7 separate regions of the Homo sapiens genome follow, and all the other regions are linked to region 4. Evidence: promoter capture Hi-C in 16 types of primary human blood cells and fetal thymus (Javierre and others, 2016). All regions are on one chromosome and are shown on one strand. Each heading gives the region's core, a stretch centred on a gene start or on the middle of the fragment in contact. The rest is flanking DNA. Distances are from core to core; before and after follow the strand shown. Region 1 overlaps LPXN (leupaxin). Region 2 overlaps ZFP91 (ZFP91 zinc finger protein, atypical E3 ubiquitin ligase). Region 3 overlaps ZFP91 (ZFP91 zinc finger protein, atypical E3 ubiquitin ligase). Region 4 holds the start of SLC43A3 (solute carrier family 43 member 3). Region 5 has its middle 9.7 kb from the start of MPEG1. Region 6 has its middle 16 kb from the start of CNTF. Region 7 holds the start of FAM111A (FAM111 trypsin like peptidase A).

What was found. The method cuts DNA at HindIII sites, captures the fragments that hold promoters and counts their contacts. A CHiCAGO score of 5 or more calls a contact.
Region 1: a contact is called between a fragment that was not itself captured here and the fragment with the promoter of SLC43A3 in region 4, in 6 of 17 cell types (monocytes, total CD4 T cells, activated CD4 T cells and 3 more). The highest score is 8.5, in monocytes.
Region 2: a contact is called between a fragment that was not itself captured here and the fragment with the promoter of SLC43A3 in region 4, in 1 of 17 cell types (neutrophils). The highest score is 6.0, in neutrophils.
Region 3: a contact is called between a fragment that was not itself captured here and the fragment with the promoter of SLC43A3 in region 4, in 3 of 17 cell types (erythroblasts, monocytes and activated CD4 T cells). The highest score is 10.0, in erythroblasts.
Region 5: a contact is called between a fragment that was not itself captured here and the fragment with the promoter of SLC43A3 in region 4, in 1 of 17 cell types (M0 macrophages). The highest score is 5.4, in M0 macrophages.
Region 6: a contact is called between a fragment that was not itself captured here and the fragment with the promoter of SLC43A3 in region 4, in 2 of 17 cell types (naive CD8 T cells and M0 macrophages). The highest score is 5.7, in naive CD8 T cells.
Region 7: a contact is called between the fragment with the promoter of FAM111A here and the fragment with the promoter of SLC43A3 in region 4, in 2 of 17 cell types (non-activated CD4 T cells and naive CD8 T cells). The highest score is 9.2, in non-activated CD4 T cells.

What each region holds. Positions count from the first base shown.
Region 1 is chr11:58,564,121-58,567,868 of GRCh38, reverse strand. It overlaps LPXN (leupaxin), which reads left to right. Exons shown (of 9, transcript NM_004811.3): 3 at 3,668-3,714. Among named protein-coding and RNA genes, the nearest start is that of LPXN, 9.9 kb to the left of the region's middle. The HindIII fragment of the contact is 2,012 bases long and covers 1,131-3,142 here.
Region 2 is chr11:58,610,042-58,613,563 of GRCh38, reverse strand. ZFP91 (ZFP91 zinc finger protein, atypical E3 ubiquitin ligase) reads right to left here. Exons shown (of 11, transcript NM_053023.5): 4 at 3,230-3,266; 5 at 2,510-2,614; 6 at 1,826-1,960; 7 at 1,236-1,286; 8 at 724-802. It overlaps ZFP91-CNTF (ZFP91-CNTF readthrough (NMD candidate)), which reads right to left. Exons shown (of 13, transcript NR_024091.1): 4 at 3,230-3,266; 5 at 2,510-2,614; 6 at 1,826-1,960; 7 at 1,236-1,286; 8 at 724-802. Among named protein-coding and RNA genes, the nearest start is that of CNTF, 11 kb to the left of the region's middle. The HindIII fragment of the contact is 1,495 bases long and covers 539-2,033 here.
Region 3 is chr11:58,588,666-58,592,300 of GRCh38, reverse strand. All of the region lies in intron 2 of ZFP91 (ZFP91 zinc finger protein, atypical E3 ubiquitin ligase), which reads right to left. The region is part of intron 2 of ZFP91-CNTF (ZFP91-CNTF readthrough (NMD candidate)); the gene reads right to left. Among named protein-coding and RNA genes, the nearest start is that of ZFP91-CNTF, 11 kb to the right of the region's middle. The HindIII fragment of the contact is 5,379 bases long and covers 1-3,635 here.
Region 4 is chr11:57,424,782-57,428,506 of GRCh38, reverse strand. It overlaps SLC43A3 (solute carrier family 43 member 3), which reads left to right and starts at 1,386. Exons shown (of 14, transcript NM_199329.3): 1 at 1,386-1,445; 2 at 1,855-1,919; 3 at 2,155-2,518; 4 at 2,837-2,966. The coding sequence starts at 2,335. RefSeq lists a silencer at 1,267-1,626 and enhancers at 1,869-2,661, 1,770-2,969, 2,662-3,454. The HindIII fragment of the contact is 9,438 bases long and covers 1-3,725 here.
Region 5 is chr11:59,220,762-59,224,466 of GRCh38, reverse strand. No RefSeq gene overlaps it. Among named protein-coding and RNA genes, the nearest start is that of MPEG1, 9.7 kb to the right of the region's middle. The HindIII fragment of the contact is 657 bases long and covers 1,777-2,433 here.
Region 6 is chr11:58,636,881-58,640,277 of GRCh38, reverse strand. No RefSeq gene overlaps it. Among named protein-coding and RNA genes, the nearest start is that of CNTF, 16 kb to the right of the region's middle. The HindIII fragment of the contact is 3,239 bases long and covers 335-3,397 here.
Region 7 is chr11:59,141,146-59,144,557 of GRCh38, reverse strand. It overlaps FAM111A (FAM111 trypsin like peptidase A), which reads right to left and starts at 1,702. Exons shown (of 6, transcript NM_001312909.2): 1 at 1,612-1,702; 2 at 1,254-1,475; 3 at 863-1,061. It overlaps FAM111A-DT (FAM111A divergent transcript), which reads left to right and starts at 1,750. Exons shown (of 4, transcript NR_110184.1): 1 at 1,750-1,943. It also overlaps the pseudogene LOC100422399. RefSeq lists enhancers at 7-116, 1,485-1,934. The HindIII fragment of the contact is 3,476 bases long and covers 111-3,412 here.

The DNA of each region.
Region 1 (3,748 bases), core at 887-3,386, 1.1 Mb before region 4:
TAATGCCTTTTGAATTTTACAATAAACCCTTTCAGCAGTTAGCTCAAAACAAAACCCACATGTTTAATTGTCTCAAGAAAGCTGATAATGAATATGCAACGTGCAGAAAATATTTTTCAATATTTACCATGTACCATGCAGGCAAGTAGAAAGATCACTATCCCTTTGAAAACCAGAAGGTACAAATATGGTGAAGCAGCTTTGGCATCTATTTCCAAAGTTAATAATTTAAGAAGAATATGCCTTAAAATGACTTCAACACGGCAGCTGCAGGAGGCCTATGTACATGTCATTGTGAAGCACACCTTCCCATTAGTATCAAATAACTCATAAATTAATTTTGCTCATTTTCAATTCCAAGTTTTCTTGTACTTGTAAGTAAACTGGTAATAATTAATGAGTGATTTTCCTTTGCAAACCTTCAAATAATGTTTTTTATAATAATTTCCTTAGAGGTCTCAATTCAAAAATGTATTAATTCTGAAATGTTTCAATTTTGTTTTTTATCTAATTCAAACAATCAAAATAAAATATGTGAAAATTTATTTCCTAGTCAAAAAGTGAAACATCTGACATTGTTAATGCCACTGTAAATTTAGTTGAAAAGCTCAACATTGAAGGTAAACTGTTGTTTTTGTTGTAAGAATATGAATACAAATGTTAATAGAGCACAGCATTGTGTTAAAAATGTTCTTACCAAGTTAACAAGCTATGAAGCAGAAATGTACTTGGAATTGGTTGTAATGTGCACAAAATTTGTGACTGCATTCAAACAAGCTGCGGTATTCTGTCAGTCAAAACAGAAACTAAAATTGTCAAAATGTATAAATTATAAATATATATATACACACACACACACACACACACAGATTTTATAAGTAACTGATCTACAAAACTTTTCTGACAGAAGCTGATATTGAACACTACCATGCAAGGAAACATTTCAGAATGACTATATGTATATTCCTGTCTGTGTTGCATGTCATCAATTGGATTTTGGGAATGCCTGAGCCTTTGAAAAACCACTTTGTAAAGCAACCCAAATTTAGATTGCATTATGTTCAAGACCAGTTGGAAATTTTTAATCGATTACTGAATGAATGTAGCATGAAAATTCAGCTTTTGAAGCTTTTAGCAAGTTACAATTATGTAAAATAAGGCTTGCAAAGGAAGAAGCTCAAATTTCTCCCTACAAAAGCGAAGAAGGAGTTGAACAAATCAAAAGATGAAAGCAGATATGGTTTAATTATCTATTTTGACAATTGTGCTTCAGAAAAATCTTGACTTTGATGTATTTTGACTTCTAATTTTATTTGGATAAATTTTTATTCTCTACCAAAATGGAGAAAAATTGTGAAAGTCTATGATTTTGCAGTATCTAGATTTGGTGAAATGTTGAAACAATCACAGATATAGACAACTTGAAAGTTTTATCTTGTAAGAAATTATTGAGCAAAAGTGCTTTGAATGAAGGTAGAAAGACAGCACCTATGACGATATTGGCCTGAAATATTTACATATTTTAATCTAAAAAATGAGAAGATTCTTCATTTAGCAGAACTTACAGGTTCATCAGTATCTAGAGAGGAAATGTGTTCTCAGTTAAAAACATATAGTGAAGCATCAATTAAAGTTGTCCATAATTTCAAATATATTAACCATAAAATGAAGTTTTGAAAAAGATTGCAGTTTTATAAAAAAATAACTGTTTAAATAAAAAACGAAAAAAAACACATGTTCCTGAAAAATGTCCACATCCCAATGCTAGAGACAATAATATCTAAATAACCAATTAAGGTATGTGAATACATATAAAGAATAATTGTCTGTACCATTAAAAATGTTCAGATAATCAATTTTTTGTTGTTGTTGAGACAGAGTGTCACTCTGTTGCCCAGGCTGGAGTTCAGTGGCATGATCTTGGCTCGCTGCAACCTCCGCCTCCTGGGTTCAAGCAATTCTCCTGTCTCAGCCTCCCGAGTAGCTGGGACTACAGGCACCCACCACCATACCTGGCAAATTTTTTTGTATTTTTAGTAGAGACAGGGTTTCACCATGTCTGGTCACATGACACCAGGCTGGTCTCAAATTCTCCTGACCTCAAATGATGCACGTGCCTCAGCCTCCCAAAGTGCTGGGATGATAGGCGTTAGCCACTGTGCCTGGCCAATATTTTTTTAAAGTTGCTTGAATGTTCATAACTTTGTATCACTATCACTTTAAGATATTTCAGGAAATTTTTATTTTGAAAATAAATTTTGGATAGAATTATCTTATAGGTCCACCAATATAATAAGACCAAATTCAGGTCAATAAACACATTTTTTTTTTTTTTGAGACCGAGTCTCGCTCTGTCACCCAGGCTGGAGTGCAGTGGCATGATCTCAGCTCACTGCAATCTCTGCCTCCCGGGTTCAAGCAATTCTCCAAGCCTCAGCCTCCTGAGTAGCTGGGATTACAGGCACGCAACACCACTCCCAGCTAAATTTTTATAGTTTTAGTAGAGATGGGGTTTCACCATGTTAGCCGTGATGATCTCGATCTCCTGACCTCGTGATCCGCCTGCCTCAGCCACCCAAAGTACTGGGATTACGGGCGTGAGCCACCACGCCCGTCCAATAAACACATATTTTAAAAATGATACAAGCTCGTGACCCGTCTGCCTCGGCTGCCCAAAGTACTGGGATTACGGGCATGAGCCACCATGCCTGGCCAATAAACACATATTTTAAAAATGATACAATATGACTTATTTTTGGAACCCATTTTCTTTCTAAAAAATACCCCATTCTGAACGTTTGGTGATGTGGCCACCTCATCTGTATGATCTGGCCCCTTTACTTGCTGTCCCTGTGTCCTTGGTTCACTCTGCTCAGGCCACACTCTCCTTCTCGTGGTTCCACAGATGCTCCAGGTGGTTTTCCTGCTGGCCTTTCCACCTGAATCATATGACCCCAGATATTTGCTTTCTTTCCCCACCTCCTATATAAGTCCTTGCTCAAGCGTTCTCTTCTCAGTGAGTCCTTCCCTGATCAGTATATTTATAATTGCTGTCTCTCCCCACTTCCCATCCTCTATGCAGAATATTACTTTTACATACCAATTTCTTTATTATTTGTTTCACAGCACCAGAATGTAAGCTTCAGGGCTTACAGTTTTTATTTGATTTTTTTGCTTTTTGACTGCTACATCCTCAGCCCTGGCACATGACAGGCCCTCAATACATATTTGTTCAATTAATAAATGAATTGCCAGCCAACCATCTTTTAGATTCACATGTTATTTCTTTTCATATGTCAAGTTTAATAACATTATAGTCTCCTCCTAGGCACCATCCTGTTTAGTTAAAGGGGCTTAGCTCTGACCCATTTTATTTGATTTATGGTTCTTATCTAAGGAGGATCAACTTCTCTATTTGGGTGGTTTTTAGGCAAGGAGGGGCTGCTAGTGTTTGTTCACATGCCAACTACTCTGTTTAGAATTTGGCTTTTCTTTGTGGGATGGCTGGTAATTCCTCTGGCTTGTGAAAGAAGAGCTCATAGATATGCCACTTGTCAGTCCCCTTTAAAAGCTACAAACATCTATTAACTGTGGGTATCATTAAGCCTCAACATTCTGATAACAAAAATTTATTCTTTGCTCTTCTCTTGTCACTTATATATCTTAGGCGCAGCTCGTGTATACTACCAATATCCAGGAGCTCAATGTCTACAGGTATTTTTTTTTCTATTAAATGCTTTTAAAAATT
Region 2 (3,522 bases), core at 37-2,536, 1.2 Mb before region 4:
ACATTGGGAATTACTGTAATATTGAAAGATTCCAACGAAAGTTCTCTATGTGGGTTCAGATTCTTAGTCACCTCTTTTTAAACAGGAGGTGCTATGAATTTGGATGTGTTCACCACAGTTCATGTGTTGGAAACTTAATCCCCAATGTGATAGTGTTGGAAGGCGGGACCTAATGGGAGGTGCTTAGGTCTTAAAGGCTCTACCCTTATATAAATGGGTTGATATTATCATTGGAGTAGATTTGTTACAAAAGCAAGTTCAACCCATTCTTGCCCTTCCACCATGGGCTGACACAGTTAAAAGGCTCTTGTGAGATGTGGGCACCATGCTTTTGGACTTTCCAGTCTCCAGAACCACAAGCTAATAAATAAATATATGTTCTTTGTAAATTACCCAGTCTCAGGTACTCTATTATAGCAGCACAAATGGACTAATCATGATTAACCCATTTATGCTGGAGGTTGCAAATGTATTTTTGTGAAAAATCAGACCTTGGTGATGACCTTGAACAGTAGGATATAAATAACTTGCCCAAGCTTAGCATTCTAATAATGGAACACTAGGCATAAATGGGTTAAAGTCATTTTATGTTTAAAGAAAGACTTTTCTTGACATTACATGTCAATGATAAAGCCTACACAAGCCAACAAATTAAAGTCTCGTGGTGCAAGAACAAGTAATGGAACACAACCTGAAAGGCTCTTATATAACAACTTCACTGACCTGCAAATAGCGAGGATGGGCAAGGACAGTTCCACATCCTTCCATCTCACAACGGACATACTGGATTGGAGGCTTTTTTCTATTATCAAAATGCAGAAGAAAAGTTAGCAAAAAAAAAAAAGTGGTACTCTGCACAGTGGCCTCTGACTTAAACTGTGCTATTGGGAATAGCTATTTTATAGTAGGAAGAATTAAAATCTCTTTACTACTATACAGATTACACAGAATTTGTATTAGAAGTAACCAAGAATTAGCAAATATTTGACAGAATTAAAAAGTAACACAAATAAACTAATGACCCCCCAAAGGTAAAGTATTAAGATTGTTAGAAATTTCAAGCTCTTACAATGAAAATAAGATCATAACACCTGTGCATCTAGGACATTAGTGAAGTTGCTTTTGTGAAATTTTTAAATAGCCATTCCTGCAGGATTATCATGAAGTCTAAATTTGTGAGTAAAGTGCCTGGTACTGGAATAAGGTGTAAAACAGTAGGGGTAAAAATTCCTCACCTCCTTTTGGGTAAACGTGGACTTTTGTCATCTTTTCGTCTTCTTCCTCTCCTGTAATTGAAGACAGGGTAACAGTAGACATATTCTGAATCAAAACTACACAGTGAAGGCTGGCTGAAGACACACACACACACACACGGCCAAAGAACAAGTGGCAAAGGATAACCAAGAATACATAAAGTCAAAGATATATCTGGCAAATCAAGCAAGTAATTTTACCCTGAAGTAATTTCACTTTCAAATCAGTCTGTAAGACAGATTAAATATATACCTTCCATAAACTATGCAATACTATGAAAGACTTAGAAGAATCTCAATGTATTACTTTTAGAGTTGCTACCATGTATCATCTAAAAACACTAAGATTAAAAAATACCTTCTCCTTGCAATAGAACTGAAAAACCTAAACATTTTTTTACTAAGAGTCTCTCCAGTGAAATTGTCAGCTGCTTGAGGCCAAATTTTTTTAAGTTAAAAAATACATATTTTGAAGCATGTATACGTCAACATCCTTCCTCACACTCCCACTCTTTTTTCCACTAGTCGTTCAAAATCTGTTAGATTTTCATTTTTAATAATTGCCTACTCACTTCCTTGGAGGTTCCTCATCCTCTCTAATTTCATTCTCCTCTTCTTTCACCTCCACCTCTACTTCCACTTTAATTTCCTTCTTCTCCTTCTCTTCTTTTACCTTCCCTGATTTTCTCCGTGGCTTTGGGGTTTCCCTGAAAACACAAATGCATTTCAATACTAGACAAAAGATCTTTTCAAGGAAGACTATGACAACAAATTAAAGCTTAGAGTTATCACTGATTTGTTATAAAACTACCTTCCTCAGTTCATGAAATGTGATTTCCTACCAATCATCCTCACATGCATAGTAATGATCCAAATATATGTATATGTTGCTCATGGAATGAACCCTCCCCAGACTAAAGATGCCTGTAAATCAAATTTCACTATAATTGTAAAGAGAAACGAGACAATTAGTTAAAAAATTCTAAGTATTCAGGCAATTCATGATACCTTGTTGAAATAAAACATGCAGACTCATAAAAACTTGTATATAATCAAAATAAAGTTCTACAAATGGGAAAGAGGATTATTATCAGGGTATATTAAGGTGTTAGACTTACAAAAGAAGTGCATAATTAATTACTCATTTAAAATTAATTCTATACCCATTAGCTTGGCAACAGATAAAATAAAAGCATGCAACAGTGCTTTCCTACTTATATTTCATTAACATGTCTGCAGTAAAATCTGAGACATGCCTTTCTAAGTGGGGTTTGTAGGTCTCATCTCTTGGATCATCTTTGAATGGTATCTCCTCTTCACTGATTAACATCTCTTCTTCCTCCTCCTCTTCCTCTTCACTACTAAAAATAAGTAAATAGAAATGAGACATTCTGGTTGTAGCGAACATGTCTGAGGGGATTTTATTTGGTAATTTTTTAAGAGGTAGCCAAACACTGATAAAGTCATCTAGCATTTTCATCCTAATGACCTAATTGGACTGAAATCTAGCTGTTTTATCACAAAGAATAATAATTGAAACTAAAAAGACATAAATCCTAGATAAAGACAGGGTGATGACAACTCAATGGCATTAAAAGTTAAGAAACAACTGACTTTGTAATACTGTCTGGTGATCTGCTATATTAAAAGACCTACTAACAGATAAATCACAACACAAAAGATTCCAATAAAATCTCAAAACCTTGGCCAAAACACCCATATTTCACATTAGTGCCTACCATGGAATAAGTCCAAACACAGAAGATACTCAAGACATGATTTCTAAGCTATGTAAGTAGATTACATGGTTTAAGTTCTAATCAAGCTCAACATGGAATCTAAATGCAGTATCAAAACTGAAGTTAATTTCTCTTACAGCTCAAAATAATTTCAAATGGAAGCAACTTCTGAATCATTTACTGTGACTATGCTATGTCCCCAAAGGTTTAAAAATGAAATATTAATGTTTTTTTTACCTAATGCCACCTGGAGACTGATGCTCTTCTCCAACATCTAGAAAAACAAAGCCAAAAACAAAATTTTATTAGTGTAGATATAAGATATTTTCTCTCTGCAGTCAAGAAATGCAAATCAAATTACTGCATGGGGTAATTATACAAAAGCAGAATATCTGCAAACTGTTCAAAGAAATACCACCTACACCATCAAACCTGCCCCTGACAGTTAAGCTGTTAACACAAATGTTCAACATTACATTTAAAATGTAACAGCAACTAGTTAGTAAACAGCCATATTCTAGTTGCACTGT
Region 3 (3,635 bases), core at 841-3,340, 1.2 Mb before region 4:
AGGCTGGCCAACATGGTGAAACTCCATCTCTACTAAAAAAATACAAAAAATTAGGCAGATGTGGTGGTACACCACCTCTAATCCCAGCTAATCAGGAGGCTGAGGCAGGAGGATCACTTGAACCCAGGAGGCAGAGGCTGCAGTGAGCCGATATCACGTCACTGCACTCCAGCCTGGGCAAGAGTGAAATTCAGTCTCCAAAAAAAAAAAAAAAAAAAAAAGATGTGCTCAGGGGTTCAAATTCCCAGCTCGAGCATCACAAAAATTACCTCAAAGTTTCTGTGTCTTTCCTGAAAACAATACTTACCTACTACAGCTGCAAAACTGAGATTGCTGAAAACCAAACCCAGGCTGACCTGGCTACAGCCACTGCTAATTGCCTAATATGCCAGCAGCAGAGACCAACACCGAGTCCCTGATATGGCACCATTCCCTGGGGTGATCATCCAGCTCACCTGGTGCAAGGTTCGCTACATTGGACCACTTCCATCATGGAAGTGGCAGTGCTTTGTTGTTACTGGAATAGACTCTAGATACAAATTTGTCTTGCCTGCATAATGCTTCCTACATACATTGCATAATGCTTCCTATATACAAACACAAATTGTATGTCTGAGTCCATTTACACAAAATGTCCAGAAAAAAAACAAATCTATACAGACAGAAAGTAGATTAATGGTTGCCTAGGGTTGGGGGTGAGAATACGGATTAACTATAAACAGGCATGAAGGACATTATTAGGGTGAAGAAAAAGTTCTAAAACTGTATTGTGATAGGTGTGCAATTCATACAATGTACCAAGATCCCTAAATTGTACATTTGAAATGGGTGAATTTTATGATGTATAAATTACATCCCAATAACACTATATTTCAAAAATATACATCACAGTACTAGTCATAAAGACTAATAACTGAAAACTGCCCAAACATCCATCAACAGTAAAACAGTTAAACTGTGGTTATATTCCCACAATGGGACACTATACAACAACTAAAATAAACGATCTATGACAAACACAGCATTTGTCACAAATGATGAGCAAAATAAGCGAGACACAAAAGAGTGCCTACTGTATTATCCCATTTATGTAAAATTCAAAAATTGGCAAATCTAATTTCTGCTAAAGTCAAAATAGTGGTTACACTTGGGGGCGGTTGACTTGAAGGAGCATAAGGGAGTTTCCAAAACAATTATGTTTTATTTCTTCAGTTGTGTAAATGGTTACATGATTGGGCTCACCCTGGGTCCACCCACTTATAAAATAAAGAAGGGGGAGGAGAAACAAGAGTACATGTATATGTCTTATAATATGTGCATTTCTGTATACGTATGGTACATTTTAATAGGATTTCTCTAAAAATCACCTGTAATCTCAGGAAAAAAAAAAAACCCAGAAATATCAAATGCCCTTCAGTTAGGTAACGGTTAAATAATAGAATATAAATGTACAGTAGCCATGACTGGATATCCACAAAGCATCTAGGCACCTCTTCTTTCTTAAAGAATCAATCCCACTCTTAAACACAGTGGGAATCCCAATTAAGCTAAGCTAACAGCATCAAAAAATATGAAATACTCAGGGATATATGGGATAAAAAATTTGAAAGACCTATACACTGAAAAGTACAAAACATTGCTGAGTAAAATTAAAAACCTAAGTAAATGGAGCAGTATATCTTGCTTATAGGGTTGTAAATACTAATATAAATTTTATTTTGATTTTATGACTTCGATTTTCTATTTTTTGTTGCTGATATACAGAAATACAACTGATTGATTATACTGTGGGGGTGGTTTCAAGACACCTTGCAGTTACTGCCTTCAGGATTTTGGAACACTGCGCCACAACCACCATAATATAAAACAAGTCTGAACTGAATGACCAATGAGGAGGGGGGAATGGCCCAACCAGTAAATAATAAATTGCTGTGTTTTAAGCCACTAAATTTTTAGATGGTTTGTTATGAAGCTAAAGAAGCCTTTGCCCGGATAGCATTAGATTATTCAGGCTGGTTTTAATTCAGAGGAATTTCTTCTTTCTTGAACTTAACAGTCAAGGGGCAATATTACTTTTTGTCACAGATTCTTATCCACTAAGGCTCATTTCAAAATGAAGATACAAGCAAGTCTCTCTTAAAGGTTTTGGATTTGTACTGGCTGAATATGGCTTTCCCCACTAAGGATTTTAAGTTTCCTCTGCTTCAGTTTTCTTCTATCAGGGCATTCTGCTTTAACTCTCAAGTGGTCTTGGCAGGAAAAGGGATCTCAATGTAAAATAATATATATAGCAGAATAAACTTATAACTGTGTCGAAGATGGCAATAAGTTGAGCTGTAATAGGCAAATTATTATAAAGTTAAGACTCATTTACCTGATAGGTAATCCCATAACTGAAATAAGCTGATGATCAAGGCTTTTTAAGCCTACATCACAATTCACATATTATAAGTGACATATATCTTTATTTGTAGGAAATTAATAATGGAAAAGAACCAAAGGAGGTTTGGATGTCTGAACTAGCAATACGGATTAAAGGATCTGGGCCATACCCAACATGGAACAAGATGTCTGAGTAAATTATTCTCATACTAAGAGAAATAATACAGTTACTGCTACCTTAAGATAAAAGATTAGGAAGGAAGGACAAACAAAAATGTCTATCTACTGTATTTAGCCTTTGAGGCTTGAACATTATATTGTCAGAAACTTGAGTTTCTGAAACCTAACTGAACTACTCTGTGTATTTCTATCACTAGCTGCACTTTGTTTTCCATAAATAATTAAAGTTTGCTTTGAAATATTAGCCAATCTCAGTAGTATTAAGAGAAGCCAGGGAAAGAGGCTTTTGTTGTTGTTGTTGTTTTTAACTTACATTTAAATTTAGAACAGTATCATTTAATTGGTAAAGGGGAATATTTCAGTTAAAACTAACAGGCTGGGTGTAGTGGCTTATGCCTATAAATTCCAGCACTTTGGGAGGCCGAGGCAAGAGGACTGCCTAGCCAGACCAGGCTAGGCAACACAGTGAGACCCTGTCTCTACAAAAAAATCAAAAACAATTAGCTGGAAATGGCGGCACACTTCTGTAGTCCCAGCTACTTGGGAAGCTGAGGCAGGAGGATGGCTTGAGCCCAGGAGATCAACACTGCAGTGGGCCATGATCACACCACTGCACTCCAGCCTGGGCAATAAAATGAGACCCTGTCTCAAAAACAAACAAAAAAAACCTTAAAAGCCTATCTGAGTGTTAAGACTGGGCTTATACACGCCCTTTCTCACCTACAGATTTTCCTTCCAGAACTCTTTTTCTATTCAAAACCTAAAAGATTTTATTTTGACTGGGAAAACTAGGTCATTAGCAAGGAGATTCAAAATCTTTCAAGAAAGAATTGTGAAGACAATGTTCTCAGTATCTTCTCGATTCTTCCTTTTGTACACAAACTCAAATGGTAAGAATTACAAGTTAGATTTTTCTCACTGGAATGGGAAAAAAAGCATAAAAATGTGTCTTCTGTATTTTTAGAAATAATAAAAATATTCTTTAAATATACTAGAAAGAAAGAAAAACCAACAAAAAAGTATACTATAAAACAGACACATCTGTAAAGGAAGTAAAAACAGTCAATGTTATA
Region 4 (3,725 bases), core at 137-2,636:
CCAAATGTTTGTTAAGACGGGGTGATGAGAGCATACGTTTCAGAGTTGGGAAGGTACTGCAGCTTTGTAGAATGACCGTGGGCAAGTTCCTTTGAAATTCCTCCCCAGAGCTGCTTCTCTGGCTCTGTCTACATAACTGCAGACTAGAAAATCTACTACCCTACAATCTGCCTATAGCACCTGCGCCATGCAGGGACCTCATACACCCATCTTATACTTCTTTTATGACAATTCCTATAATTAAGGTACTATTGTCCTCGTCTTACAGGTGGGGCAGCCAAAGAGCTTGCCTCAGGTTGTATAACTAGTGAGTAGCTTGGGGTACAGGACCCCAGCCACCCTTCCTCCATTCAGTCAAGTCACTAGGGTGGTTGCAGACTTTTATCTTTTGTGCTTTGGTGGTGAGCTGGAAAATCCTCAGTTCTGGCTGTCCCCTATCGTAACCTCTATTTCTTCCTCTTAAAAAAAAGAGGAGTGGGCTTGGAATAGCTGGAGTTCCTGGGCCCTCAGGGGATCCAGGTAGCTGGGGTTGGGAGTCTGCAGACTGCATCTAATACGCAAGAAGCTCTCCCCAAACTGAGCTTTTGGCAAGGAAACGGCCACACAGGCCAAAGAAGACGTCAGCTCACGTGCTCTGGGCTGGAAGGATAGTAAGGCAGCTGCTTAGTAAGGCCTCACGCTGATCACAAGCTCCGATGAGCAATTATATATGTCTTTGATTAATAAAAAATGGGGCAATGAATGGTTAATCAATGCAGTCTGGCGGGAAGGCTCTTTCAGAACCTGGGGGGCGGGGGTGAGGCAGGGAGTCATCTAAGGGGTTTTTGGGAGTGAAAATATGGGGCAGTCCTCCAGGGGATGGTTTCTGAAAAGCCCTCAGTCCTGGTTCTTGGCTTCCTGATTCTGTGGTTGGGATTTTTTTGGCAGCTCTGGGAGTGTGAAACTGGGAGAGACGGTTAAGCTGGTGAGCAAATAGGAAAAATATGTTCCCTGCCAACCCAGCGGTCAAGGCAAAATGCACAAATAGAGTGTGTGTGTCCCTATGCCCTCATGTGCTGTCTGTGTGTCCTCTGGGTGCTGGGTGTGACATTTTCCCTAGGTGGGCCTGAGCGAGTAACAGCATTCAACTAACTTGGTTAGGGGAGGCAGAGGCAAGGGGGCTGGGAGGCTGAAAGGCAGCGAGGAGGGAGGGAAAGACACCGCTGGGGTTCTAGGGGGTTCTAGAGGGAGAAGTTTCAAGAGGGAGAGGTAAAAAGGGCGCGGGAGGCTGTGAGCAAGGGAAAAGAAGAAGGAAGTGATGGAGAGTGGGAGGTCTGCCCCAGCCCCTTCCGGGCGGGCAGGAGGGGGCGGAGGCGAGCAGGGGACTGGGAGGGGCTGCGAGAGGCGCGAATGCGAACCTGGCCCGTGCGGAAAGGGCGCGGAGAGCCCCGGCGCGGAGCAGGCGGGTAGGGCGAAGGGTCCCCTTTCGGGCGCCATGGGGCGCCGAGCGCGGCCTGGCCCCTCGGGCTCCTCTGCGGGGAGGGCAGGCCGCAGGCTGGAGCGGGGTGCGGAGGCTGGCGGGGAGCGGCCCCCGGAGGCTTTCCTGGTAGAAGTTGATGCGAGGAAGGGCGGCGGGGACCAGGTTTGCGAGTCCTAGGCGAGGGTCATGGGAGTTGGGGGTATTTCTGGCAGTAGAATGGCCTGCGTCGTGACTAAACTAGCCCTGTGACCTTGGGCAAGTTCCTGAAATCCATGGGAGCTTTTGTTTCATTGTCAGTAAACTGAAGATAACACCAACTTGGCAGCGGGAGTTTGTGTCTTCTGTATGAAATCTCCCTGCCTCTGCACCTGGTTGAGTTGCTGTCATTATTTTAGGGGACGGTATTCAGAATTCGAGCGCAGGAGCTCCGCTTCTCCACCTGCTCCCGGGGAGCTATTGGGTAAGTCGTTTATCTCACCTGTGACTCCAGGTGGCCATCAAGACCTGCCTCTCTACTTGCCACGTGGTTACTCAAATGCAGTGCCTAAGATGATGTATTGGAGTATTTATTCCCCACATTTGCTGCCAGCGGCCATGATCATCCTGCCTCTTAATGCACCTCACAAATAACTCTAGTCTACCTTTCCCTTTCCCGCAGGCCTCCTCTTCCAGCAGCCTCTATCTTTATTCTACAGGATCCAGAGAATCACCCGCTGATGGTTTTTGCCCAGGCCTGAAACAACCAGAGAGCTACGGGAAAGGAAGGGCTTGGCTTGCCAGAGGAATTTTCCAAGTGCTCAAACGCCAGGCTTACGGCGCCTGTGATCCGTCCAGGAGGACAAAGTGGGATTTGAAGATCCACTCCACTTCTGCTCATGGCGGGCCAGGGCCTGCCCCTGCACGTGGCCACACTGCTGACTGGGCTGCTGGAATGCCTGGGCTTTGCTGGCGTCCTCTTTGGCTGGCCTTCACTAGTGTTTGTCTTCAAGAATGAAGATTACTTTAAGGATCTGTGTGGACCAGATGCTGGGCCGATTGGCAATGCCACAGGGCAGGCTGGTAAGGGCAGGGATGACTTTTCTAAGGAAGTTAAGTCTGGCTCCCACGTGGTGGCAAGGAGCAGGAAGGACTCTGCCCCCTGCCCACCCCTCTTTCTATGATGAGAGGAAGGGTCAGCAGCTCTCACCCCACTTGATCTGGGAAGTGCCTGGGAGGGAGGCACCAGCTCCTGAGGGGTAATTAGGGGCAGCCACATTTCAACTCAGCTTAAGGGACAAGTTTGCGACCGACAAGCTGTCTGAGGTGGAGGGGAGCCCAGCCTGTGTGCTCATTTGGCAGGAAGGCTGGGATGCATGGGAGACCTTTTTTCTACTCCAGACTGCAAAGCCCAGGATGAGAGGTTCTCACTCATCTTCACCCTGGGGTCCTTCATGAACAACTTCATGACATTCCCCACTGGCTACATCTTTGACCGGTTCAAGACCACCGTGGCACGCCTCATAGCCATGTAAGTCCCAAAGGCCAGCCCAGGCAAAGGTGGGTAAGAGGAATCCTTCAGGCAGCAGCCTAGCTTGGAGTGAAATCCAGAGTCAGACAGCCCGGCCACCCTGCCAGGCACCACACCTGCAGCTCGCTCCCAGCAGCTGTTAGGAACAGCCCCAGGCAGCGGGACTCTCTCTAGACTTGCCCACTTCACCACAGCCCCACTTCCATTTCCTTACCTCGTTCCCTGCTCTGCATAAATGTGGCTTCCCTATCACGTGCTGAATTGAGCCGGAGGCCAGGGTGACTTCCTGTAAGGGCTGGCTTGGAGCCAGGGTTACAAAATTAGCAAAACCTAAAATTGCTCTTCTCTTCCTTCACCCCAAGGATCCTTGTCCTCATCCCCTGCACAGCCTCACATCCAGGTTGCCCAGGCTTCATCCTCATCCTCCTCACCGCCCCCCCTCCCCGCCCCAACAGCCAATCACTCCCTAGGGGCTTAGCTAATAGGAAGTTTCTTTGGTATTGCCACTGGTGGAATTTCAGGTCCCTTCTGACTGGAGGGGAGACTGGGGGGGTTTCCTGTGCAGATGAGTCAGAAGGTTCGGGACGTGATCTCACACACAGTGTGTTGCTGCATCCTAATCTCGTGCTCTGTGGCCAGGCTCAGTGGTAATCAGCGGCCTGCTGGGGGCTGATACAGCTCAGAGCAGGTGCTCCCAGGGAGGCACATGTGAGATTGGCTGTCAGAGAGAGAGACGGGAGGGCTGGCTGGGCCTGCCTT
Region 5 (3,705 bases), core at 856-3,355, 1.8 Mb before region 4:
ACTGTTTGGCGACTCTGATTTCCTGTTTTCAAGGAAATCATGCTACTTCAGCTATCCCATGAATCCTGTGGCTTGGAAAACTTCTTCTCATCATAATTATCATGCCTCAAATGGAAGAAACCATAAGAGAATATACGGACTGGCAGTTTTCAAATTGTGTTCCAGGGATCCCAGGCCTGCTCTGAGAGGTGAGGAGGAAGTGAACTTCTGGGCTTTGGCGCCCTGCTTCCTGCTCAACCGAGGGAGCTCTTCTTTCATATGTTTTATATTTTTGGTTTCCATGTAAGCTTACATGGGAAAAGAAAGGCTCTACAGCTGAATAATGCTTATAATCCACAAATTTAATATAATCCTCTAATTTTGTAAGTGAGAAAATGAAAGCCCAGAGAAAGGAAGCAATTTGCAAGATGGTGGCAGAGCTAGGATTCACACCGACTGCTCCTGAATCCTCATGTCCTGACCATAATCTTTCCTCTCTATGAAGAATTCCTTCATATTATCTCACCCACCATGAAAGTAAAGGAGAAGAACATTGCAGAGATCTGGCTCTTGTTAACATCCCACTGCCAGTGAAGTTAGTCTCCAGACCTTTCTCCACCCTCAGACCTCAATTCTCTCTGTCTTTTTCTCTCCCCACTTCACTGATGCAATCACTAGCTGCTCTTTTGCCCTCTCCCGACTCTCAGGAAAAGTTGTGTTGTCATCACTTGGTGAAATAGCAGTTCTTCATCTTTATTCTAGCGGTTCAGGGAGAGGGAAGGCAGATTAATTACATTTGCAGCCTGAGCTCTCCCTATGGAAAGAAAGTTGTTACTTTCAGAAAAAAAGGGTTTTAGACTTCTGTGAAAGTATTATTTTATTCAGGGCAGGGGTGTGACAGCAGGAAAGTTTGTTTCCCACAGCCCTGAAACCACAATACATGCATGGCAACCTGTTACATCTAAGAAAAAGTTAACAATTACAAAATAATTATAACAAAAGAGAACTTGGCTGGGTGAGCTGATGCATGGAAACCCTGCCCTGCATATACTCAGGTATAGACACATTTCTTCAAACACAAAGATTCAAGCTCAAAACCAAGAAAGGGAAATACCTGAAGGCCAAAAAGAGAGAACTCAAAATCAGAGCAGTAAGTGGGAGTTGAAGCCCTGCAGCTAAGGAGCTTGTTGGGCCTTACGTAGACTTAATGGCAGAGTCTTGGGGCTTTAAGGGCTGTGGGTGGGGATCCAGGCTGCTGGTCCTGTGTACAATGTTCAAGGGGGTGATGGAACTGTCTTGGGAGTCAAGAAGGCTTATGACCACATAGGTGTGACGTTTTTGTTCACATTGTTCCCAAACCAAGAAATTACCATAAACACTGGTTCAGCATAAGGCCTCATATACTCAGCATATTCAGTATAAGTTTATTCAGTATATTGAATCTAAGTCCTCATATACTGATAGAGTAGGCCTCAGCAGAGGCAAAGCTAAAACTATCTTGGAGGGACAGTTCCATAAACCGGAGCAAACCAGCCTCCCACAGCAAACAACCCCAGTGGAAATGCAGCTCAAGACTCATAAGTTACAAACCACACAAGGAAGCAAGTCACAAAGGGGAAGTATCAGCAGAAACAAAACACGGAAAAATTTCCACACCATGACCTGGATTCAACAAGATATTCTTTTTTTTTTTCAAGTAAAACATCATGGTCATAATTTTGAAGAAGTTTGTTATCACTGGATTGCAGAATCACAGACTGTGTGTCATTCAGATGCTGGAGAGAATCTCAACAAGCTTTTTTATTTTACAGATGGGGAAACAGAGACTCAGAGAGGGGAAGTGACTTGTCTAAAGTCACCCTTAGGTTAGTGGGAGAATGAGGAATAGAATCAAAGTTACCAGGTTTCTAGCCCTGTGCTACTTTTTCTGTCCCATGAGGCCCTAATTTCTCAAGGTAAAAATTAAAAATCTAACTTGAAGAGAGGACCAGTAGAAAAGAGAGAAAGACCTATCAAGGATCTAGGAAAAGCTGGAGTGAGGACCCTAGTTCTAATTAGCAAAGCTCCTATTTGGCTCTCTAATAACTAGAAATTTTAAATAAATGCCTCCTGTCTTGTATTTGCATTATGCTGACCTGGTTCTCTTTCCTAGTTTTCCCCTACTTAGTCCTTCTCCTGCTGTTGGCATAATGAAAGTGTTATTACAATTGGGGCAAGTCAGGTTCTGTGAGAGTTTCTTCTTCCTTCCCAACCTTTGCCCCACCCAGCTTCTATATCTATGTAGGAGGGTTAGGAACAGGGAGAGGGGTAAGACCAGGTACCTTTAGGACAGACTCATTAGCTGCAGATATCAGGCAAAGATGGGAAGCAAGGTGGGTACGGAACTGGCTATGGGTTCAGCCTTGCAGGGCCAGAGCCTTGAAGACCAGATCAGATGTAAATAAGGCCAAAGCTTTTGGCATAGAGGAGCACTGTCTTTAGGCTTTGTAATTGATTCATTATGTAAGACATCAAGTTTACACCATCCCACGTTTGCCAAGGATATAACTTCAGACCAGAAAACCAATTCTTTTATAGTAAGAAACACAAATAGCACAAACTAGACCCAGGGTAACTGTTCAAAAATATTGTAGTAAATTCAAATAAAAATTTCATAATAACGTTACTTAAGCTTGAGTATTCCATCTCAATGAGTCATGGCCTGCTTTTCCAGGGAAATGTTTGAGAAATGCTGTCAGATTTGTCTGTTTTATTCACGTCTTTATTCATTCAATATAAGCAAACTATGTACCAAACATTGCTACATTCCAATAAGAGAATGATAAACCAATGACACAGTCCTCTGTCATTAAAGAGCTTACATTCACTGGAGGAGAGAGTCAAACAAAAAGTCAATTGAAATACAGAGTAATAACGCAAGGGGTGCTATTGGAGCATGTAAGAGGAAGATTCTGGTATTATTTAATGCCCTATCATTTAATAACGGTTTATTGGGAGGTGCAATCCAAGGGCAGCAAATGTGAGGGAGCAAGGGAGATAAGGTAGAGAAGGAGAGGAAGCAAATCTAGAGGGGTGTATTACTGAGCTGATCGCAACTCAGTGAAAAACACAGGTGGTTAATATCTTTAACCAGACCATACGTAACCACCAGGGCTCAGGACAGTCCGTTGGAGGAAGAAAGGAGAGGAAATTGTCTGCTAGATCTCTCCTGTATCTCAGCTCTAATTCATCAATGTTCACTGCCCTGTGGAATTAAGTCCTCTTAACTTCTGGGCTGTGCAGCACCTCTGGCCAGACACTGGAGAAGCCAGATGCCACACACAATGACTTGGTGCTTCAGTGGAGTCCAGATATGATGAGAGGAACCAGAATCTCTTTAAGGTCCTTCATGTTTAGGGTCTTCAGATAAAGTACAGGATGCTCAGTTAAAATTGAATTTTCGATAAACAATGAATAATTTTTTTATTCCCCAAGTATTGCATGAGACATATTTATACTAAAAAACATATTCACTGTTTATGTGAAATTCAAATTTAACTGGGTGCCCTGAATTTGTATTTGTTAAATCTAGCAACCCTACTCTTGCTGGACTTGCATAGGAACCACTGGGGAGGGGGAGACCATGCCAGAGCCCAGGCCTCTTCCTGGGAGAGAGGCAAGTGGTTTTGGAGGTGAGGGGATGGAGGACAACCTGGGAATCTACACAGAGGGAGTAGCCAAGGCTTG
Region 6 (3,397 bases), core at 705-3,204, 1.2 Mb before region 4:
GGAGGCTAGGGGACTGAGCAGCATGATTACTTATCCCTGTCCTGGGAAGAAACAAGAGGGAAAAAAGATTTGTTTCCCAGAAGACAGCCATCTCTCCAGCAAATAATCCAGTCCCAGGTTCCCTTATGATAAATCAATCACACTTTTTAATAAAAGAATGCAAACATAGAGATTGGAAAGAAGCATTACATTGAAAGAGCACTAGGCTTTGGATTCAGACAAACCTGGATGCAAACCCAGACCTTGAACAAGCCATTTAACCCACTTCCCTAAAAGAACACCTTATTTTGTGCCAGGCACTCTGCTGGGCATTTTATATCCAACAGCTCAAGCTTGAAGAGGTTATTATTGTTCTCATTCTGTAACAGATGAAGGAAGTGGGACTCAGGGAAGAAAGCCGTGAGAGTGGGAGGGCTCAGCTGATGAAATGACAAAACCCAGATTTCAATTCAGGTCTTGAGAAGCACCCATTCCTCTGGCCAGTGCTGCCTCTCCCCATACAGGGTGGAGAGAAAAGACTTCTGCTCCAAGCACACTGTTAGAACCAGCTGGAACCAGGAGCAATCCCATGCTCCTTTCCGTGAGCCTTCTTTAATTGCAAATGCCCTAAGAGGGATAAAAAATCAAGACACTGATACTGAATAGAAAGGAGAAACACCACACATAGATCAGTGAATGGAAATTGTGCTTTGGCATCAAAGAACCTGGATTCAGATGCTAGCTCTGTTGTGTACTGTGACCTTAGGCATTTTACCTGACTTCTGTGGGTCTTAGTTTGCAAATGTGCAAAAGTAGAATGGTGAGAGGGTAAATGAGATTATAAAGCACATATTTCAGAGGCTCATTTAGAGCAGTAGCTAGTCTCAGAAAAAGGAGGAGCCCCTAGAGGGTTCCAATGATGAGGCCTGCGAGGATGCTGGGGTTTCAAGGCTGCAAGCAGGCACTGAACATGTCCGTGCAGGGGGAACTGCTGGACAGCGGCTAGAAAAACCTAAGTAATGCAGAGCTCGGGCTGGCATTGCAGCAAGTAACCACCTCTTTCCAGACCATGTGCACATGGTGCCAGGAGGGATAGGGTCATAGAAACCCAGGCAGAGCTTGTTGACCACTGGCTCAACTACACCAAAGCCTGGGCGGCTCCATCAGTGCTAAGCTCCGCTTCCTCCCCAGCCTTAATGGTAAGTTCTCAGCCAAGTGCCAGAACGTCAAGGCGTACAACCCGGGGTTCCATCAGGTTGTAGGTCACAGCCAGAGTGCAGGTCCACCACAGCATCTACTCTCTGAAGGTCCCAGAAACCCCTGATATTCAGCCCTGCTTCTCGCAGCATGTGCGGACCCTCAGCAACCACCTGGAGAACCACCCAGACCCAGGAGGCCAAGTACCTGGCAGAGATGCTTGTGCTCAGGTATGGCAAGCATGTCCTCACCCACGTGGAGGCAAATACTCGTCACTGGCAAGTTTTTTGTGCCTCAGCTTGGTCCTCTTTAAAATGGAGTTAGTGTGTCAAATTCCTAGGTTACTTGAGAGGATTAAATGAGCTAATGGAAGCAAAGCACTTTGGAACACTCTCTGGCCTTTCTAAATGTGAAAGTTCATATCTATGACGATTTGCTGCTGCTTTAGGATTGAGATCCCAGAGTCAGATCACACAGACCGAGGCTCAAGTCCCAGCACTGCTGCTTACTGGCTCAGTGACCCTGGGCAAATTGTCCCACCACTCTGGGAATTAATCTCTTCTCTAAAGTTGGGATAATATTAAAATTGATGTCATAAAATTACTGTGATGATTAAATGAGATACTGCAAGGAAACCCTTCCCCATAGTACCTGGCCTGTCACCTTGAGCTGTCATGATGTGGAATTGACCATGATGATCATTCTGATGGTGATGTGAGGACGTGAGTGGCAGAGTTCTATGTACCATGAAGAACATAAAGATGTCCAACCAGGGCTCATGGTTGAGTGGGGCAGATACACCTAATATATAAATTACTCATTGTGAAATGTGATACAGCTTCAAACATTTTCTATGGGAAAATGAAGGAGGGATACAAATTCTGAGAGATGTCTGATAAGGCTTCTGGAAGAGGATGGAATTTCTGCTGCATCTTGAAGATTAGATGTGAGAAAGAAAAGAAGGACTTCCCAGAAAGAAACAGAGTTTGATCCAGGGCTGGGAGCAGGAGCACCAGACTCCTTCTGGCCTCAGCCAGACACACATAGATTTGTTCAATTCTGCTGGCCTGGGAGAATCCTTTCAACAGCAACTGGAAGCTCCATTATGATGGCCTCAGTTCATTTCTTTGAAAATATCCCCAGGCTCCGGAAACTGAGCTCCCTGACTGAGAAAGGTGAGGTGGGGGCCAAGGCAGAATAGGTTTTGGCCTGAGGTTTAAAAAGAAAGGTGGGAGAGAAGAGAGAATGGATTATCTTATAAGTAGAGTAGTCATATAATTTATCATCCAAATCTGAACTCCGGTTGAAACCAAAAAAAAAAAAAGGTGTTTTAATTATATGGGACAATGCTCATAAACTGGAACGTATGACATCCACCTTGATATGACTGTTTGTCATTGGGCCCTGACCTCCCTTGTCATCCTGATCTCTAGCTAGCCTTCAGATTCCCCCTCCCATGACACACTCCCAATATGTTCCACACACTGATCCCCTGATGTGTCATGGTGATTCCTGGCTGTGCCTTTGCCTGATGAAGTCTAACTCATTAATCAAGACTGGGTTCAGATGTCAGCTCCCTTGAGAATATGTCTTTACCTGCCCCTCCTTCTCACACACACATACTCCTTCAATCTCCCAGGAAGAAAGCATCTCTTACTCCTCTTGACGACCACCCAACCTTAGCAGTATGTTTATATGAGCATGTCACTTGGCATGAGTTCTTTTTCCAATTTGACTAAGAGCTCTTTTAGTGTGGGGAGGGTTGGTGTTGTCCTTATTGTAGTTACTGCCAGGGCTCAGCCTCAGAGCATCAGACAGAACTCTGAGATAGGTGCTGTAAATTTTAGAGGTATGTGCTCTAAAAGTTAGCTGAATGAATGAGAGAAAACCAGAAAGAGGTCTTATGAAGCCTCAGGTGATAGGAACCAGCTATTGGATTCTTTTAAATGACCTGCCCCTCTTGGATTCTTAAGTGTATTATTATTTCATTCATAAACCCGTTTTGAGCCCCATTTTTGTCCATTGTAAGTGCTATCATAAATACAAAGATGAATAAAACTTAGTTTTCACTGCCTCAAAATATTCTAGGCAAGTTGACCAAAAAATAGTAAACAACAGAGAAGGCAAAGGGGGAGGTGGTAGCATGTGTAACCATATGGTCTCCAAGTTCCTTTTAGAACCCTGGGTCACCGGGTGGAGGGGCTGCAGTAATTCCACCCCA
Region 7 (3,412 bases), core at 453-2,952, 1.7 Mb before region 4:
TTCTCTTCCCTTGAACTTTTCTTTTACACGAGTACAACAAAAAACAAGAACAGAGACAAGTCGTAGTGTTGCTAGTGATAAGGCAGATTTTTCACCAAGCCTAAAAAGCTTTTAAAAATCTGGTCCCATAACCAAAGGGGTTCCTAGAAAGATTTCTTTATGCCTAGGGACAAAATAAACTCAGCGCTTGAAAAACTGAGCAAAAAGAAACTGGAGTTCAACCTGATGCAAGATCTACTTTCTCCACCTTTGAGATCAGGGAGAGCCTCAAGAAGGTTGAAGGGACTTCAGGGCACACACTGATTCTGAGTTGAGGGTTGGGAGGTTGATTAGGTCTTGCTGGAGCCTCCAAGAATGTCAAATGTTGGCTCCCAGTAATATCAAAGCAACCTGTTGATAAGACAAAGCTAAGTTTCTTGCTCACTTAGGTAATGGAGAACAATAACTTGACAGAATTTAAGTGGTGTCTCAGAGAGGGAAGAGCAAGTTTGGGCTATATGTATTGAGATTTTGAAGTCCCATTGTAAGTCTAATATTTAATGAGGGGAATTGGTTAGAATTGAGTCAGCTACGGGTAAAAGTTTAGGATTGGTAGATAAAACAAGGCTAGGATTTTGAGGTAAAGGTTCAAAGTCTTAGAATGTAAACTGTTCTTTGATGTTTTCCATTGAAGAGTGGTTGGATCTTTGAAGAAGATACTGGATTAAGCAATAAAGATATTTGCAACTTTCCGGTCCCTGGCAAAAGTTTCTTGAAATAGTAAATGTATGTTGATGAAAATAATGGAATAAGAAGTCAGGTTAATGTAGTTGGCAAGCTATGTGAGTGTAGATGGCTTCAGTTCTCACAATAGTGAACATACCTGATAATGTACTCAACATTTGTCACTTAGAGTATTTTATCCTGGAAAGAAGCGTAGTTGGGAAAACGCACTTGAGATGATGTTTGCTGCACACAGAATTCGGACACAGAGATGTGAATCTCCTTAGGAACCATTTTCATAAAGTTAACATTGGGTCTTAATAGACATCAGTTTTTAAAAATTAGAACAGGCTTGGGCACTGCAAAAGAAAGACACATCCGTTCACTTGGCTGTTCTTTTTAAGTTTCCAGGGAGAGCGTCAGTGCCCCTTTCAACAATAAAAGCCCGCAGGAGTGCAGATTTTATTTACCCTGTCCCCACCAGCATCCTGCTGCGGCCAATGAATCCTGGCAAAACTCCAGGTCAGCCCCAGAACCAAAGAGTAACTCACCTAAGAGGAAGGTCCGTTCCCACCAAGTCTCAGACGCCTGAACTCGTGATTTTTAGGGACTTTCCCTTCCAGTCCCTTGGAATCCAGCACTTTGGTTGGAGAACAGAACTCACTTGGGGAATGGCGCGTCTGGCCAATGGAATGAAAGATACTGGAGTTTGTCTTTTCTCTTCAGGCAGCAACTCACCTACTTCGGAAGCCGATTGGCTGCGCTGGGGACACCTGTTGGCGTGCAAAAAAGAGTGGTTGGAAAGGCAAGGCCGAGGGGGCGCGCCTACCCTACCCACCCACAGCGCTCCTCCTTGACGCCGCGAGCAGGACCCTGTCTCACTGACCCCGTGCCCACGGCGGTCCTTGCCTGCTTCTATTCTCCCGGTTTCCCCAGTCCCGAGTATTGGAAAGCGAGAGCGAAAGCGAAAGCATCCTAGTCGCCGGTAGGCTGGCCTGGGCCGGGCTGGAGAGGGAGCAGGAAATAAAAACTCGGGTGTGGGAGGAGCTGGGACGCTGGCGGCAGAGCCACTGTGGCAGCTTGAGTCTCGCGCGCGCAGGAAGCGGAGGTGGAAGTTGGGGCGCAGGAATGTGGCTGTCCCCGCCTGTAAATCATGGTTGGGGAGGAGTCGCGGAGGCACCAGGCTGGGGTCTGCAGCGCGCCATCTGCTGCAGCACACAGGAGGCGCTGAGGCTAGTTGGGTAAGTGGGGAGATTTCAGGCACTTCCGAGGGGGCGGCATCCCCAGCAGGTGGGATAGGCCCGGTGACTAGGACAAAATCACGAAGAAGCCGCGGATGCAGGAAGAGTAAACTCCCTTGTCATAAATCGATTCTCCAAACGTTCATCAATATGTGGAGACGTTTATGATAGTGATGAAGAAGATGATATGGGCTCTAGGAATATGCATCTCAAAGCTGATGATCGAAGAAGATTGGAGAGGGTTTTCAAGGCAGCCTGCTGTTTAAGGACCTGCATTCTGAGTAGATGTGTATTGGAAAAGGCGATTACAGTCACAAAGGGGACAACTTTTATGCAATTGACAGAGGACTATATGATGTATATAAACAGATAGGGTTGAAAGGTGTGTTGGTAACTACAAAACACATGGGAATTTGAAGGAAGGAACTGGCCTTAAATGCATGTACAATACACCAAGAGAAGCTAAAATTACTGCTTCATCTTCTGTGGGTTCTTTGGGGTTTGGATAGAGTAACCTTAAAACATATTTGAATGCTGACTTTTTCTATGAGACTCACTTTTGGAATCTGTGCATTCCTACATTCACAAAGGGTAATCACAGCTAGTACCCAGCATCCAAACAATAGCAGCCAATAATTCTAATCTGGAGAAAATTTTCTTTTCTCTCTCTTTCTCTCTCTCTCTCTCTTTCTTTCTTTCTCTTTCTTTCTTTCTTTCTCTTTCTTTTTTTCTTTTTCTTTCCTTCTTTCTTTCTCTTTTTTCTTTTCTTCTTCATTCCTTCCTTCCTTTCTTCCTTTCTTTTTTCTCTTTATTTCTTCTCTTTCTTTCTTTCTTCTTTCTTTTTTCTTTTATCTTTCTTTCTTTCTCACTTTTCTCCTTCCCTCCCTCCCTCCTTTCTTCCTTCTTTCTCTTTTGCCTGTTTTACATTTTAATGTGTAAGCAAATAGTGATTAAAGGACAATAGGCTTAACATTTTCTAAAACATGGGTGTTCAGAATTGAATATACTGATAAAATTTGTTTCCAAAAGGAAGGATTATATACTAGGTGGGAGTGTAAATTAGTTCAACCATTGTGGAAAACAGTGTGGCAATTCCTCAAAGACTTAAAAACAGAACTACCATTCAACCCAGCAATCCCATGACTGGGTATGTACCCAAAGGAATATAAATCATTCTTTCATAAAGACACACGAACACGTATGTTCCTTGCAGCGCTGTTCACAATAGCAAAGAATCAACCTAAATGCCTATCAGTGGTAGGCTGGATAAAGAAAACTCAGTATACCATTGAATACTACACAGCCATAAAAAATAATGAGATCATGTCCTGTACAGGGACATGGATGGAGCTAGAGGCCATTATTCTTGGCAAACTAATGCAGGAACAGAAATCAAATACTGCATATTATCACTTATACGTGGGAGCTAAATGATGAGAACACATGGACACGCAGAGGGGAACAACAGA